4 separate regions of the Homo sapiens genome follow, and regions 2, 3 and 4 are each linked to region 1. Evidence: promoter capture Hi-C in human tissues and cell types (Jung and others, 2019). All regions are on one chromosome and are shown on one strand. The core of a region is centred on a gene start or on the middle of the fragment in contact, and the rest is flanking DNA. Distances in the headings are between cores, read along the strand shown. Region 1 holds the start of TOP3A (DNA topoisomerase III alpha). Region 2 has its middle 6.7 kb from the start of ZNF287. Region 3 has its middle 28 kb from the start of ZNF287. Region 4 holds the start of ZNF624 (zinc finger protein 624).

Region 1 (3,443 bases), core at 252-2,751:
TTCATTGGCTTTCTCAATTGCCTGAGATGAGTAAAAGCCTTTGTCGTTGGCTTTCTTCTGGATCTCCGTTTCTGTGTGTAGCACTGTCCTGGTGTAATCCAAGTCTTTCAGCTTTTTTTCAAGTTCCCCAGCAAATGCCTTCCTGTTGCCAGTCTTCAAGCACTCAGAAGCTCTGGAAAATTCGGCTGAAAGCTCCTGGAACTGCTGCATGATTTTATGCTGGTCTGCAGAGATATAAGCCATGCAAAACGGCCTCACGAAGCCACGGGCCTCCAGGTCGTATAGGGTAAGGTGGTGCACGTATGCAAAGGCGCCCTCCTTAGAATCTCCCAGCACCACCTTGGAGTCCTCCACGAAGTTCAGCTTGGGGTAGGCAGATCCAGGAGGATGGCCCACGAAGGAAGCCTGGTAATCCACAGACATGATACGCAGGGAGAAGTAATTGAGATCAAAAGTGCCAAAAACTTTGGTGTCATTGGGGATGGTCAGTAAGGGTTGGGGTCCCACCTGCTCAGAGAACTCGGAAATAAGAATGAAGTCCCTCGAAAACTTGGCCCCGGACAGTTTTGACCAGGGGTTAGCACCCTGACTGGCGAAGGGGAAGAGCGGCACCGAGTACTCCTCAGGCAGGGCCGGCTCATTGTAAGGCTCTTCTTCATACTCTTCCTCTTTGGTGAAGGCCACTACGTCAGGGGCGCTGATCATATTTCCAGATATATGAAGAAAACATTGAGAGGAAGTGGGAAAGAATGCGGTGTTAATCGACGCGCAGAAGGCAGGCCTCCGGAGAAGGAAGTGAAGCCCTTACGGCCTTCTTTGCGACTCCCCGAACCCGGGGTCCTAGGCTGCTTCTCACACACCCGAGGAGAAGAACTCTAGCAGCCCCCTCACAGTTGTAGCTCCTCCGGAGCTCTCTGAGGCCTCATGAACGCCAAGGCCGCAGGCCCAACTGCCCTTCTCTTCTTCGTCCGGCGAGCGCGGCCAGCACAAGAAACCTGCTGCGAAATCACCTGCACTCTCCGGAACCCACTGCGACAGCAAAAGCCCCCGCTCTGAACAAGGCTTAACGCGAGGCTACGGGACGCCGCAGGGGTCAGCCAAGCGCTGCTGCCCCTCACTGCCCGAGGGCAGAAACCGTCGCGGCTCCTAGGACGCCACAACCCGGATCCTGCTACCGCGGCGCCGCCATCTTGACATCACATGACTCCTGGTGTCCGCGCCGCGTGACCCGGAAGCGTCCTCGTAGACTTCCGAGCAGGAGATTAAAAAGTCATGAGAAAGAGGCCTTGGATGGGAGTGTCTGGCGGCTCCCCGCAAGAAGGAGTCCGATTAACCAACCACTGCCGGGAAGGAGGGGAAAGAGGGGCGGAGTGAGACGGGGGCGGCGGGAAGGTGGCAGAGGGGAACGTGCTTGGACGAGGGGCGCGGGACAGTCTGGGAGTTGTAGTTCCAGGTCGCTGTGGGGCGCGCGCCTGGCGGAAGTAGCTGGAGAAGGCGGGCGGAAGTTCCACGCCAAGATACTGGATTCGGTGCTGAGGCGGCGGCTGCGGCACGGGAAAGGCTCAGTGACTGAAGCTCCAAAGGCCAGCAGGCTGGTGGGGACGTGACCGAAGCGAGGCTCTGGTTCCCTTTCGGTGGGCGCCATTTGAGCCTCATCTCTGGCTTCCCCAGGATGCGCCGGCAGCCGGGGAGCGGCTCCGGGCGCGAGGTCTGAGGATGATCTTTCCTGTCGCCCGCTACGCGCTCCGGTGGCTGCGACGGCCCGAAGACCGTGCCTTTTCCCGCGCCGCCATGGAGATGGCCCTCCGAGGCGTGCGGAAAGTCCTCTGTGTGGCCGAAAAAAACGACGCGGCCAAGGGGATCGCCGACCTGCTGTCAAACGGTCGCATGAGGCGGGTAAGAAAGCGCGTTCCGATCAGCTGCGTGCCTTAAGGGAGGCCCACCGAGCGGGACAGCGTGGTGGGCGCCAAGAATCGAGATGAAGGCGATTATCTCCCATTTCTCAGGCCTCACTGCCCCTCGTCTGGATTATTGCAGTGGCCTCCTGTCTGCTCTCGGACTGGAGTGCATTTTAAAACGTAGTTGATACATCTCACTCATTTGCGTGGAAACCTTTTGTTTTGCTTGCGCTTAGCAGGTTCCCAAACTTGTCTGATTCTCGGAATCGCCTCGGGCGCTGGCTGCCCTTCGGGTCTTGTGTGAGGCTGGGGAAGTGTGTATTTTACTGTTTTTCCCTAGAGATTCAGAAATTCATTTGGGAACTACTGACCAGATTCCCTTAACTTGGCATTCAAGCCCTGCCCGATCGTTCCCCAGCCAACCTAGCCCTCCCCATCCTGTGCCACAGCCACTGCATTCTACAGCCCTTGTGACTTTCCAGCCTCACAGTGCACACTTACAGCAACACGGTAAGGTTTGGGGATTAGATTTGAAGTCAGCCCTGTTCCTACCCGAATGAACTGATTCTGAGAGAGGTAAGTGGTAAGAATGTGTTCTACACACACGGGAGGCACAAACGCAAGGGAGGATAAGAAAAAGTTTCATAAAGGAGGTGCCACGGGAGACATAAAGAGCTGTCCAGGAAAATATCTCAGATAACAAAAGTAGATCCTGAAATGGTTTTCTGGAGAACTTTTCTAAGAGCATGGGTGGAAGTTCCCTGCTCATTTTTCTTTAGTTCCCAGGGTCCTAAGACCTGTTTCCAGATCAAGGATAGTGGGAGTGGAGCCAGGGTTGTGTGAATGCTGGCTGACAGCTTTACCTGTTTCCAGTGCTAGAAGTCCTGGTGACCAGCCCCAAGGTTTGTCTACTTCTAGACAATGAAGTAGACATTGAAAAATGGTTCTCCTACGCCTAACTTCTTATCCTTCAAGGCTCTGCTGAATTCATTCTCTCTCTCTCCCTTTTTTTTTTTTTTTTTTAAGCAATCCAGAGGTCTTGTATTTATCTATTTTTACCCTATCATACCATGAATCCATAGGGAATAGGTTCCAGCGGCTCAGGCTCTTTTCCATTGGTTCTCACAAAGTGTACTTCCCTCAATGGAACAGGCTGGCACTTCAGGTGAACCCTTTCTCTTTGACTTGCTTCTTTTTTGATCATTTTCCTTCACACATTTCAGGAAAGATCTTGGTTCTTAGAGTGCTTAATATGCTCAATAGAAACATTAATTCTTTGGGCAAGAATCTAGCCCTTGTTCGCAGCAGTGCCAACAGCATGCTGGGTAACATAGACTTTTCCAGTTCTGCCATGTAACATTTGTGGGTCATTCCCTTTTGAACAGTATGCATTCTCACGAAGTCCTCAATATCACCTTCATTGTAGATTCTGGTGTCTGTGGCCAGAGAAACTCCATATTTTTGTTTTGTTTTGTTTGTTTGTTTTGAGATGGAGCTTTGCTCTTGTTGCCCAGCCTGGAGTGCAATGGTGTGATCTCAGCTCAC
Region 2 (3,443 bases), core at 316-2,815, 1.7 Mb after region 1:
GGCCTAATGAGAAGTGATTAGACTTGAGAGCAGAGTGAATGGATTAATGCTGTTATCATGAATGTGGGTTTGTTATCAAAGGGGAAGTTCAGCCCCTTTTACTCCCTTTCTCCCCCTCTTTGTGCTTCTGACATGGAATGATGCAGCAAGAAGGCCCTCACCAGATGCTGGCTTCTTGATATTGGACTTCCAAGCCTCTAGAACCGTGAGTCAGTAAAGTTCTGTTCATTATAAATTAGGCACTCTGCGATTTTCTGTTATAGCAGCACAAAACAGACTAAGACACACTTCATGCCCCCTAGTGTGGCTCTATCCACTTGGATTTTCCCCCAGACCTCCTTGCCTCCAGTCTTTCCATCTTCTAAGTCCCTTGACCAACCATCCAAGCCAGCCATCTTTTTTCGTGTGTATCCTTACTTCTGTCCACTTCTCTTTCTACATAAAATAAACGTCCAGGTGTTCACCAGCTCTGTCCATTGCAAGGACATTCTCTCATCAGTTTCTTTCAAGGCCACTCTTAAATAGGGCTATGATATAGGAGCTGGTACCCACATTTTCAGCTGGTACCCACAAATTGAGCAAACTCATCCATGAACCAGGGTTGGACTTTTTCTTCCTCCATTAGCTGGTTCCCCCACAATCATAGGTGTGCACTGAGGGAAGGTGTCATGTTATCATGCCATAAAAGGCTGAGCCATCTGCCTGTGCAGCTTATCCACTTTGGTCTTGCTTGTGCCCTGTGTTAACCATGTCTTTTATTTTATGTATTCTGATGCTTTGACATCTGAAGACTTGCTGAGGGACTGCCCTTACCAGGGTTAGTCAGTTCCTAGAGATCATTAACAATTTGTCTGTGAGTGCACTTTTCAAATGCAAACCAACCAGTCCAGAGCCCACACCCGCAGGCACCTTCTTATCTCTGGGCCACTATCCCCCTATTCTAATCACTCCAGCACCAAAAAAATAAAAAGAATTACTCCTCTCTCCCACTTTTTCTTCACTCCACGCACATTGTACCTAAGTAACAGACAACTGTGCACAGACTTATGCCCCAGGGCACACTAAAATTATTCAAACTGGCCAGGCGTGGTGGCTCACACCTGTAATCCCAATACTTTGGGAGGCCAAGTCAGGCAGATCACAAGGTCAGGAGTTCGAGACCAGCCTGGCCAACATGGTGAAACTCTTGTCTCTACTAAAAATACAAAAATTAGCTGGGCGTGGTGGTGCGTGCCTGTAATCCCAGCTACTGGGGAGGCTGAGGCAGGAGAATGTCTTGAACCAAGGAGGCAGAGGTTGCAGTGAGCTGAGATTGTGCCACTGTACTCCAGCCTGGGTGACAGAGCAAGACTCAGTCTCAAAAAAAAAAAAAAATTATTCAAACTAGCCAATTCTGAATCCACTTACCATGCCTCATCATTCCTTCCCATGGAAACCACAATAAATGCTCTTGGCCACAACTCCCCACCCTCTGCCTCCTGACCAACCCAGTGCTTCTTCGTGGAGATCCCCATGGCATGGAATACCCCCTTCTGCTGGGATCTGTATTACAAACTATCTTTTCAATGCCAGTCATCTTCTGATCTATTGGACTTACTATACTTAAATAATAATAACACCTATATTAAAACATGCCCAAACTCACATACACCACTTCCATTTTACTTATGAATTACTGCTAGACTTGCTTGACCTCATGACTTAAAGCATCCGATGGAACCTAGCTCATGATAAACAGGTCTGGTCAAGGTCACATGATGTTCCATGGTCAAGTTCTTTACCCAGTGTCATGCTAGGAGCTGATCTTTGAATGGCATGTAATTCTCTGCTGAAGATGACAAGACCTGTTCTATAATCCGAGGGGTCTATATTGTGATTCACATGGTGGGGCTTGCCATAAACTCCACATGGTGTCTTTTGCAGCCCAGATACCTCTACTACTATAACAGCTGCTGGGTCATATGGCCCAGGTGGAAGTACTGCTTGAACTACAGCCTGGACCTGCTGCCTAGCCTTTTCCTGCTCTGTGCCCCACTCAGAGCTGACAGCATTCCATGTCATGATTCTTGCTCAAGTTAGAATGTTCTGCCTTTGAAACCCAAAAGGTCTTATCAAGGATTGTGCTTCCTTGTTAAGAGGTAGGAGTGTAGGCCAGGCATGGTGGCTCATGCCTGTAGTCCCAGGACTTTGGGGGGCCAAGGTGGGTGGATCACGAGGTCAGGAGTTCGAGACCATCCTGGCTAACACAGTGAAACCCTGTCTCTACCAAAAATACAAAAAAATTAGCGGGCATGGTGGCACACACCTGTAGTCCCAGCTACTCGGGAGGCTGAGACAGGAGAATCGCTTGAACCCAGGAGGCAGAGGTTGCAGTGAGCTGAGATCATGCCATTGCACTCCAGCCTGGGTGACAAAGTGAGACTCAGTCTCAAAAAAAAAAAAAAAGAGGTAGGAATGTGAAACACAATAATCCACCCTCTGTATTGGAGACCATTGCTGTCTTGCCCCTAAAATGTTACTGCTGTAGTAGGCCCCTGAAATTGTGTAGGATCCATCTCCACCCTCTGTAGTGCTTGTCTTTTACCAAGGCCTCCGACTTACCTGCCATGTCTTGCTCACCTGGCAGATGAACACACTTGCCAGAGCAAAGCCTGGATGCCATGTAATTGTGGATGTCTCAGTCTGTTCTAGCAAAACAATTGGAGCAAATTCTTGTTCAATCTTTTATAATAATCCACTGTCATCCTCATAATCCATATGGGTTTGGGAAGGGCCTGACTGTTAAATCAAGTGGGGATACAATGAGGACTGCCACCCTGTACCTTTTAGGTCATTAAGAGAGGCATGAATCTCTGCCATTCCCTCTGGAAGTGACACTTTTTGACTTATGTCTTGGCCAAGGAAGGGGTAGGGAAGTAGTTTCAGAGTATTCCACTTGGCCTTTTTGGTAGCTCTTACCCTATAGGCCAAGGAACTAATTTGGTTTGCCAACAGTAAGTACATCCATTCCAGTTATACAATCAAGGTCTTTGGAAATTACCACTGAATGGGGCAATGAATCCTGTGGGCCTGCCATGAGACAGACTTTCATGGACTACCTGGCTGCCACACTTCTCCATTTTAACATAGAGGCCATCATGTTGCCTAAGGTCCCTAAGTATCAATGTCAACTCAGAACCTTTTTCTTTTTTTTTTTTTTTTGAGACAGAGTCTCGCTCTGTCGCCCAGGCTGGAGTGCAGTGGCCCAATCTCGGCTCATTGCAAGCTCTGCCTCCCGGGTTCACACCACTCTCCTGCCTCAGCCTCCCAGGTAGCTGGGACTACAGGCGCCCGCCACCACACCTGGTTAATTTTTTTGTTTTTTTAATAGAGACGGGGTTTCACCTTGTTAGCCAGGATGGTCTCGATCTCCTGACCTCGTGATCTGCCTGCCTTGGCCTCTC
Region 3 (3,443 bases), core at 541-3,040, 1.7 Mb after region 1:
AGTCACTAATGCCGCTCCCATGATAACCCATTAATCCATTCACCCACTAATCCCTTAATTCACGAGCAGAGCCCTCGTGACCCAAATCACCTCTCAACACTGCCACATTAGGGATTAAATTTCAACATGAGTGTTAAGTCTCTTGAAGGTGCTGAAACCTCATGGGGGAAACCCCTGATGGGTTTGATACTGGTTTAATGCCTGCCAAGATGCCTGGCCTAAATACCCATGGCTGCAGAGGGGAGGAGCCCAGGTCCCTCTTTAGAAAACTGGGGAGGGCCAAGCGCGGTGGCTCACACCTGTAATCCCAGCACTTTGGGAGGCTGAGGCGGGTGGATCATGAGGTCAGGAGTTCAAGACCAGCCTGGCCAACTTGGTGAAACCCCGTCTCTACTAAAAATACAAAAAAATTAGCCGGATGGGCACCTGTAATCCCAGCTACTCGGGAGGCTGAGGCAGAAAATTGCTTGAACCCCAGAGGCGGAGGTTGCAGTGAGCCAAGATCATGGCACTCCAGCCTGGGTGACAGAGCGAGACTCTGTCTCAAAAAAAAAGAAAGAAAGCAAGCTAGGGAGAAGCCTGGATGTGCGGCTGGGTCACCCTCCCAGTCTGTCTGTGTTGCTAAAAAGGAATGCCTGAAGAAGGTAATTTATAAAGAAAAGAGGCTTATTTGGCCCATGGCTCTGCAGGCTTTCCAAGGACCACGGAGCCAGCATCTGCTTCCGGTGAGGGCCTCAGGCTGCTTCCACTCATGGCGGAAGGAGACGGGGAGCCGGCACCACATGGCTAGGGAGGAGGTGCCAGGCTTTTTCCAACAGTAAGTTCTCATGAGAACTAAGACTGTGAGAACTCACTCATCACCAGAGGGAGAGCATCAAGCCGTTCATGAAGAATCAGCACAGAGCTGAGCTCTGTCCCTATCACCTTCTGTCACATGCCCTAAACTCGGGCATCTCTAGGGCCCTGCATGCTCTCCTCCCTGGAGGCTATGGAGAAGGTTGGCTCCTGTGTTTTAAGGAGCTGACCGTGGCTGGGAATGTGGGGACATTGCCACTTATGGGGCTGAGGAATGACATCTTTGCTGTAGAGATGGAGGGTATAGAATGGAAAGGAAGGGCCTCTTGGTAGGGCAGTCTCCACACGAGGGCAGGTGTTGGGTCTGACTCTGGCCGTTCACACCCTAGGTCTGGGAAGGACTTGAGAGTGGGGACCCAGAGTAGGTGAGGGGCTCCATCCAAGGTAGATCAGTTTGGCCAGACTTTCTGTGTTGGAGCTACGGGGTCTCAGGAGCAAGGTTTCAGGAACACCTACTGCTGCCTGCCTGGCCAGATGAACCTGATTGGCTCTGTTCTCCAGCTGCGTGGCTTCAGGGAGCTGTAGCATGCATACATGTGTGCACAGGGCCCTGGAGGGCCCTAGCCACAGATAGCATTTTACTCTATAAATCAACCTGATTCTGCAATCCCAATTTGTTAAACACATTTTCATTTAACAAGATCGACAAGCCTGTGCCGAAAGCCTGTTGAGGGCTGACACAGAGGTGGGACAGCCTGGGCTGAAGTCTGGATGGATATCATGGGGCTGGGACACACTGGCAGTTGTATATGTGCCCGTGTCGGGGTGGAAGGGTGTGTGGGGTGAGAAGAGAGCTTGCCCTGATGAGATGGAGCCCTGAGTGACTGGAGCAAAGTGAAGGAGTCCCATCTGCCCCTTCACACCTGTCCACTGAGGCTCTGGTCAGCGAGGCCAGGGGGAGGCCATCTCTGTGATGGGGGCCATGGAGGCAGCTGGGCTCCCCTGGGGCTGTGGCCCCAGCTCAGGAGGCCTCACTCCCTCTCCAAGTCCTCCCTTAGTTTTTGTGCCAGATCTCAAGTTGGCAGCAACTCCTTCTGCATCCGTGAAGACCAGGGAGGGATTCTGCCTTCATAACACAGCCCTGAAAGGAAACCCCAAGGCTGAAGCTCTGAGGTTCGGGTGACAAGTGGAGGGCTGGATCCCTTTTCTAGCAAACTGATGCCTAGAATCATCACTTGTGTTCACTTTGTGGTTCTGCAGAATCAGATGGTCACCATTTCATAGGCAACCAGTATCTCTGAAACATCCAGCCAGAGTGCACTGTGACTGGCCCGGCATCTGGCAGCAAGTTACATATGTGATACAGATGTTTTCAACTGTATGGTGACACTTTTACACAGAAATTGTATTCTTTAAAACTGTACGCATCAGCTTCTGTATGTGCAATTGTCATTTCTGGGTAGGGGGAGGAACTTGAATTCAGGAGAGAGGACTACATCGCTCGCACTTAAAATGCCCAGTCAAATCTGACCCAGTAAGGGGAGGCTGGGGTGGAAGGAACTGATTGTGTTTGGAACAGGGATTGAGTTCTAATGGTTAATAGGGCCTGGAGGTGCAAGCTCGCTTCTGGGGCCCTAGGCTCTCCTCAGGGAGACTGCAAGCCTCATCATCAATCCTACTAAGTAAGCTTTTATGCATCCTGAGTGGTGGGGGCTTCATGGAAATGACAGATGAGCATCAGTATTGTGGGGAATACCATATGGTTTGAATGTGTCTCCCAAAAAGCATGTGTTGGAGACTTAATCCTCAATGCACCAGTGTTGGGAGAGGGGGTCTAGTGGGAGGTGTTCATGAGGGTGCCACCCTCATAAATGGATTCACGCTGATTACACAGGGGCTCGAGGCTGTGTATTTTATTATAGCAAAATACACATAACATGAAGTTTATCATCCTAACCATTTTAGAGTGTATAATTCACTGACATTAAGTACATTCACAATGTCATGCAACCATCAACACTATCTAGGTCCAGAATTTGTCACCACCCCAAAAGGAAATCCTCACCCATTAAGCAGCCACTCCACATTTCCCCCCTCCTCCCAGGCTCTGGTAACCACTAGTCTTTTTTCTGTCTCTATGGATTTTCCTATTTTCTTTTTTTTTTCCTTTTTTTATTTTTTATTTTATTTTTTTTGAGACGGAGTCTCGCTGTGTTGCCCAGGCTGGAGTGCAGTGGCGCGATCTCGGCTCACTGCAACCTCCACCTCCCAGGTTCAAGCGATTCTCCTGCCTCAACCTCCCGAGTAGCTGCGACTACAGGCAAGTGCCACCACGCCCAGCTAATTTTTGTATTTTTAGTAGAGACGGGTTTTCATCATGTTGGCTAGGATGGTCTTGATCTCTTGAACTTGTGATCCACCCGCCTTGGCCTCCCAAAGTGCTGGGATTACAGGCATGTGCCACCAGGCTTGGCCCCTATTTTCTGTATTTCATATAAATGGAATATAATATGTGGCCTTTTGTACCTGGCTTCTTCACTTAGCATGTTATCTAGATTCATCCACATTATAACATATATCAAAACCACATTTCTTGTAATGGCTGAATAGTATTCCATTGTATCGTATTCATTCAATTGTAAGTACTT
Region 4 (3,443 bases), core at 460-2,959, 1.7 Mb after region 1:
CAATCAAATTCCCAAGAGGACATTTAAAAATTCTAAGCAAGGATTCATCTAATCTCTGCCTGAACTTCTCCAAAGAATTCAAATTCATTATTGCACAAGGTAGCCTACTCTATTTTCTAAAGCTGTTCGTTGTTAGCATAAAGTTATACAATCTGAATCAAAATCTATCTTCAAGTAACTTTTAACCATTGGTTTATTATTTGAAGCCAAAAAGCATTAGTTTCTTCCTTCACAGAAGAGTTCTTTAAGAGTTTAAAAATTACTAAATATAAAATGCACACAAAATTGCCTATAACAAATATCACTACAAATTGAACAGTGTACTCCTACCAAAATTAAGAAATAAAACACTACCAATACCTTTGAAGTCACCTGTGTGTCTGTCTTTCCTGGACTTTATCCCTGTAGAAGTAATAATCTACCCTAAATATTGTGTTAAACATTTTTTTTTAATAGTTTAACGAAATGTGTATGTTTCTCTAAACTTTCCTGGTGGCTTATTTTACATTCTGTTGTTTGTTGATAATGTTTTTAATTCCATCTATCATGTCCTTAAACATTTTAAATGTAATAATTTTAAATTTTTAATCAAATGAGCTCTGCCTCTGAAGTTTTGGGGGATATATTTCTGCCGTTTATTGTTTGTGCTGATTTTCAGTCACAGTGTCTTATTTTATTATTTGTTTTGTAATGTTTAAGTTTTGGACTTCTGTTTGGCTCATCTTCATCTGTGGGGAATGTGAGGGAACTGGGATCTCCAAAAGACATTTGCTTAGTTTCTAATTTCAGAGTGTATTGAATAAATATTTTGAGTAATCTTTTTCACTGGAAATTTCGTTTTATTCCAGTCCTCCTGTGAATATCCTGTTGTTTTGATTACTCTTCAATGCCACTCTCCTTAGAAGATGTACCTCATTCCGTGTGCATTTCGATATGTGGAAGTGTGTTGGGAGGTGGGGTCCCAAATTATTCATTCATTCTTCCTTCGTTTCATTCAGTATGCAAGCAGTCTCCTAAGTAGGCACTCTGAGTGATAAACTCCATGAGATGTAGTTTCTATCCTCAAAAAATACCGCCTTTGGTAGGGATAAAGTAAATAGACCTTAATATAGCTCTTGGACGAGCAGCCCTTGAATAAGTGGTCAAATAAATTTGTTGCAAATAAATACTTTCAGTCATTGTGTTTTAAGAATTATCATTTGTATGCATTGAGGAGAACTTCTACAGCTATTTGTCTTCAGAAAGGTTTTTTCTTTGTATTTCGAAGAATTTTGGCCTTAAAATTTCCAGCTTATTTTCAGACATTCATATCCATTCTACTTAATTGGCATTATAGTCATCAATTGTTGTCTCTTCCAACTCTGAGGGAATTGTCATAAAGGGAATTGTTCAGAAATATGTGTTTCCAAGCACTTGTTCACATATTTGTCTGGATCACATCTATCTGTTCTCTCGACGGCTTTCTTTAGTCGCACCTAAATGTTCCAAGACAAGGGTTGTGTCATTATTTGTATCTCTAGTGCTATTGCTTTTGACACATAGTCAAGGCTTCTCAACAGAAGTGTATCCAATTGGAATTTTTTCTCACCCTCGAAGAGCCAATTCCTTCACTAACGCAGACAAAAGGGGCGGGGGGCTCAGGCGCTGAGGATTCTGGGCACTGTAGTTCCGACGCTCCGGCTGCGCAGGCGCAATGCCCTGCCTGGAGGCCGGCACCGCCGAGCCGCCGCCATTGCTGGAAGCGTTCCCGCCCTGCTCTGCGAGTTCCCTCAGTTGTCCTCAGTTCGGCCGCCAGGTACTCGTTGTCCCGGGCGCCTGGCCTCGGTTGCCCGCCGCCCCTCCCTTGGCGCTTGGCTCCCGGCGGCGTCCGGGGCGTGGCCGTTCCCTCTAGAGCCCCTGTCCCTGAGCGGACCCGCCCACTCCTGAGAGGCGATTGGGGCTGGGCCTCCTTCCCGAGTGTGGGTTCAGTCTCCAGCTGGCCTCCCTCACAGGTAGGGCCGCGTGCCCTATGCGGCCTCCTAGTCCGGGTCCAAACCCGGGAACCCCCTCCCTGCGGGCCTGGCGGCGCTGGGGTTAAAAAGAGCCGGGCGCAGGGCGCAGGGAGTCGAGTAGGGCGGGCGGGCCCCTGACCCGACTTTCCCGGTCTTCCCAGCCCCGCGCCTTGCAGGCCCTGAGGAGGGCATACCCGAAGTGGGTAGAGGAGAGCAGTTAGGGAAAGAAGGCGAGGTTGGCAGGAGCATATCCGCTCTGGCTTCTGAACTGGCAGGGATGGAACTAGGTTCCACATCGGGGGACCTGCGCTACTCAGTAACCGAGGCAGCTTTTCCTGAAATGTCACATTTCAAATACTGTAATCACCTTTTAATCACTTGTCACTCCCTGACATGACAATGGTATTATTGCATTGGTTGGGAAATGCTGGACTGGTACATGGCGCTGAGATTCTCAGCAAAAACATGGACCCTTCATTATTTCTAAATAACTGCACTGGCCAAGGAAGCAAAACAAGTAAAGTTTCTCCTTAAGTCTCTGGATACGTTTGCAATAGTTGGAAAGACAGAGCTTGTAAATAGGGAAATTATAACTGGGGAATAGTGGCCTAGATATCTTCTGCATAATGACAAAGGGGACAGTAGAAACATATAAGGTGGCTACTGTCATGTACTAATAGCTGATTCGTTGTGCTCAAGTGACTTGCCTGTGGTCACAGTTTTACGGTAGCCAAAGCAGGGTTAGAACCTGGGGATGTGGCCAGCCACTCTGGGATTTTATTCCTATTCCACACTCCTATGTATAGGTAGATACTTCTTCTTGTCTGCTTGGAGAGTACAGAAAAGCAGAAAGAAGGGTAAACATCACAGCCCCAGGTCTCAGAGGTCTCAGTAGAGTTTTGGGTTACTCAGTCTTTTTTTCTATGCATTACATTTGCACAATTGAGATCAAGCTGAATATATTAAATGTTAAATATTGTTTATTCTAATTATAAAATAAAACAAGGGATTTATTGTAGTTTGGTTGTTAAACATATGTTACGAGCATAATCTACATAATCTACATAAAGTATTGCCAAAGAGTTTATTAATATTTACAAATATTTTAAAAATGATGACTCAGCTCACTCTTGATAAATGTTAAAGATGCAGAAAACCATTACTCTAGACCTTCGGAATTGAAAATGCCTTATGTTGCTCTTTGTAGGTCTGCTTTAGTGTTCGGGGGTTGCGGGATGGGGCAATATTCTTGGCTCATTTTTTTTCTTTGCAACCTTGTAAAACTTGGGGGTCAGTGTATGGGCTTGGGAGGGAGAGTCAGTTTTCAAGCTCTCTGAAGTAATATGCAACATCATATATGCATGTGCATTATTTTGTGGACAAGGTCAGATTCTCAGATGGGTCCGTACCCCCCCAAAAATTAAGATTTACTGGTATGCATAGATTGTGTAG

Evidence for each region. Contacts are between HindIII fragments. The study calls those that stand out against the background at their distance.
Region 2: a fragment that was not itself captured here is called in contact with the fragment with the promoter of TOP3A in region 1 in 1 of the 25 tissues and cell types used here (dorsolateral prefrontal cortex).
Region 3: a contact is called between a fragment that was not itself captured here and the fragment with the promoter of TOP3A in region 1, in 1 of the 25 tissues and cell types used here (dorsolateral prefrontal cortex).
Region 4: a contact is called between the fragment with the promoter of ZNF624 here and the fragment with the promoter of TOP3A in region 1, in 1 of the 25 tissues and cell types used here (dorsolateral prefrontal cortex).

What each region holds. Positions count from the first base shown.
Region 1 is chr17:18,313,052-18,316,494 of GRCh38, reverse strand. It overlaps TOP3A (DNA topoisomerase III alpha), which reads left to right and starts at 1,501. Exons shown (of 19, transcript NM_004618.5): 1 at 1,501-1,896. The coding sequence starts at 1,717. SMCR8 (SMCR8-C9orf72 complex subunit) reads right to left here and starts at 1,202. Exons shown (of 2, transcript NM_144775.3): 1 at 1-1,202. The coding sequence starts at 705. It also overlaps the pseudogene RPL21P121. RefSeq lists enhancers at 1,142-1,191, 881-1,404, 1,532-1,881, 1,892-1,981, 1,929-2,452 and a silencer at 1,332-1,381. The HindIII fragment of the contact is 14,501 bases long and covers 1-3,443 here.
Region 2 is chr17:16,574,232-16,577,674 of GRCh38, reverse strand. No RefSeq gene overlaps it. Among named protein-coding and RNA genes, the nearest start is that of ZNF287, 6.7 kb to the right of the region's middle. The HindIII fragment of the contact is 7,092 bases long and covers 1-3,443 here.
Region 3 is chr17:16,595,959-16,599,401 of GRCh38, reverse strand. No RefSeq gene overlaps it. Among named protein-coding and RNA genes, the nearest start is that of ZNF287, 28 kb to the right of the region's middle. The HindIII fragment of the contact is 5,873 bases long and covers 1-3,443 here.
Region 4 is chr17:16,652,116-16,655,558 of GRCh38, reverse strand. It overlaps ZNF624 (zinc finger protein 624), which reads left to right and starts at 1,709. Exons shown (of 6, transcript NM_020787.4): 1 at 1,709-1,795. LOC124903934 (a long non-coding RNA gene) reads right to left here and starts at 1,667. Exons shown (of 4, transcript XR_007065639.1): 1 at 1,589-1,667; 2 at 361-1,475. RefSeq lists a silencer at 1,800-1,999 and an enhancer at 1,955-2,465. The HindIII fragment of the contact is 17,730 bases long and covers 1-3,443 here.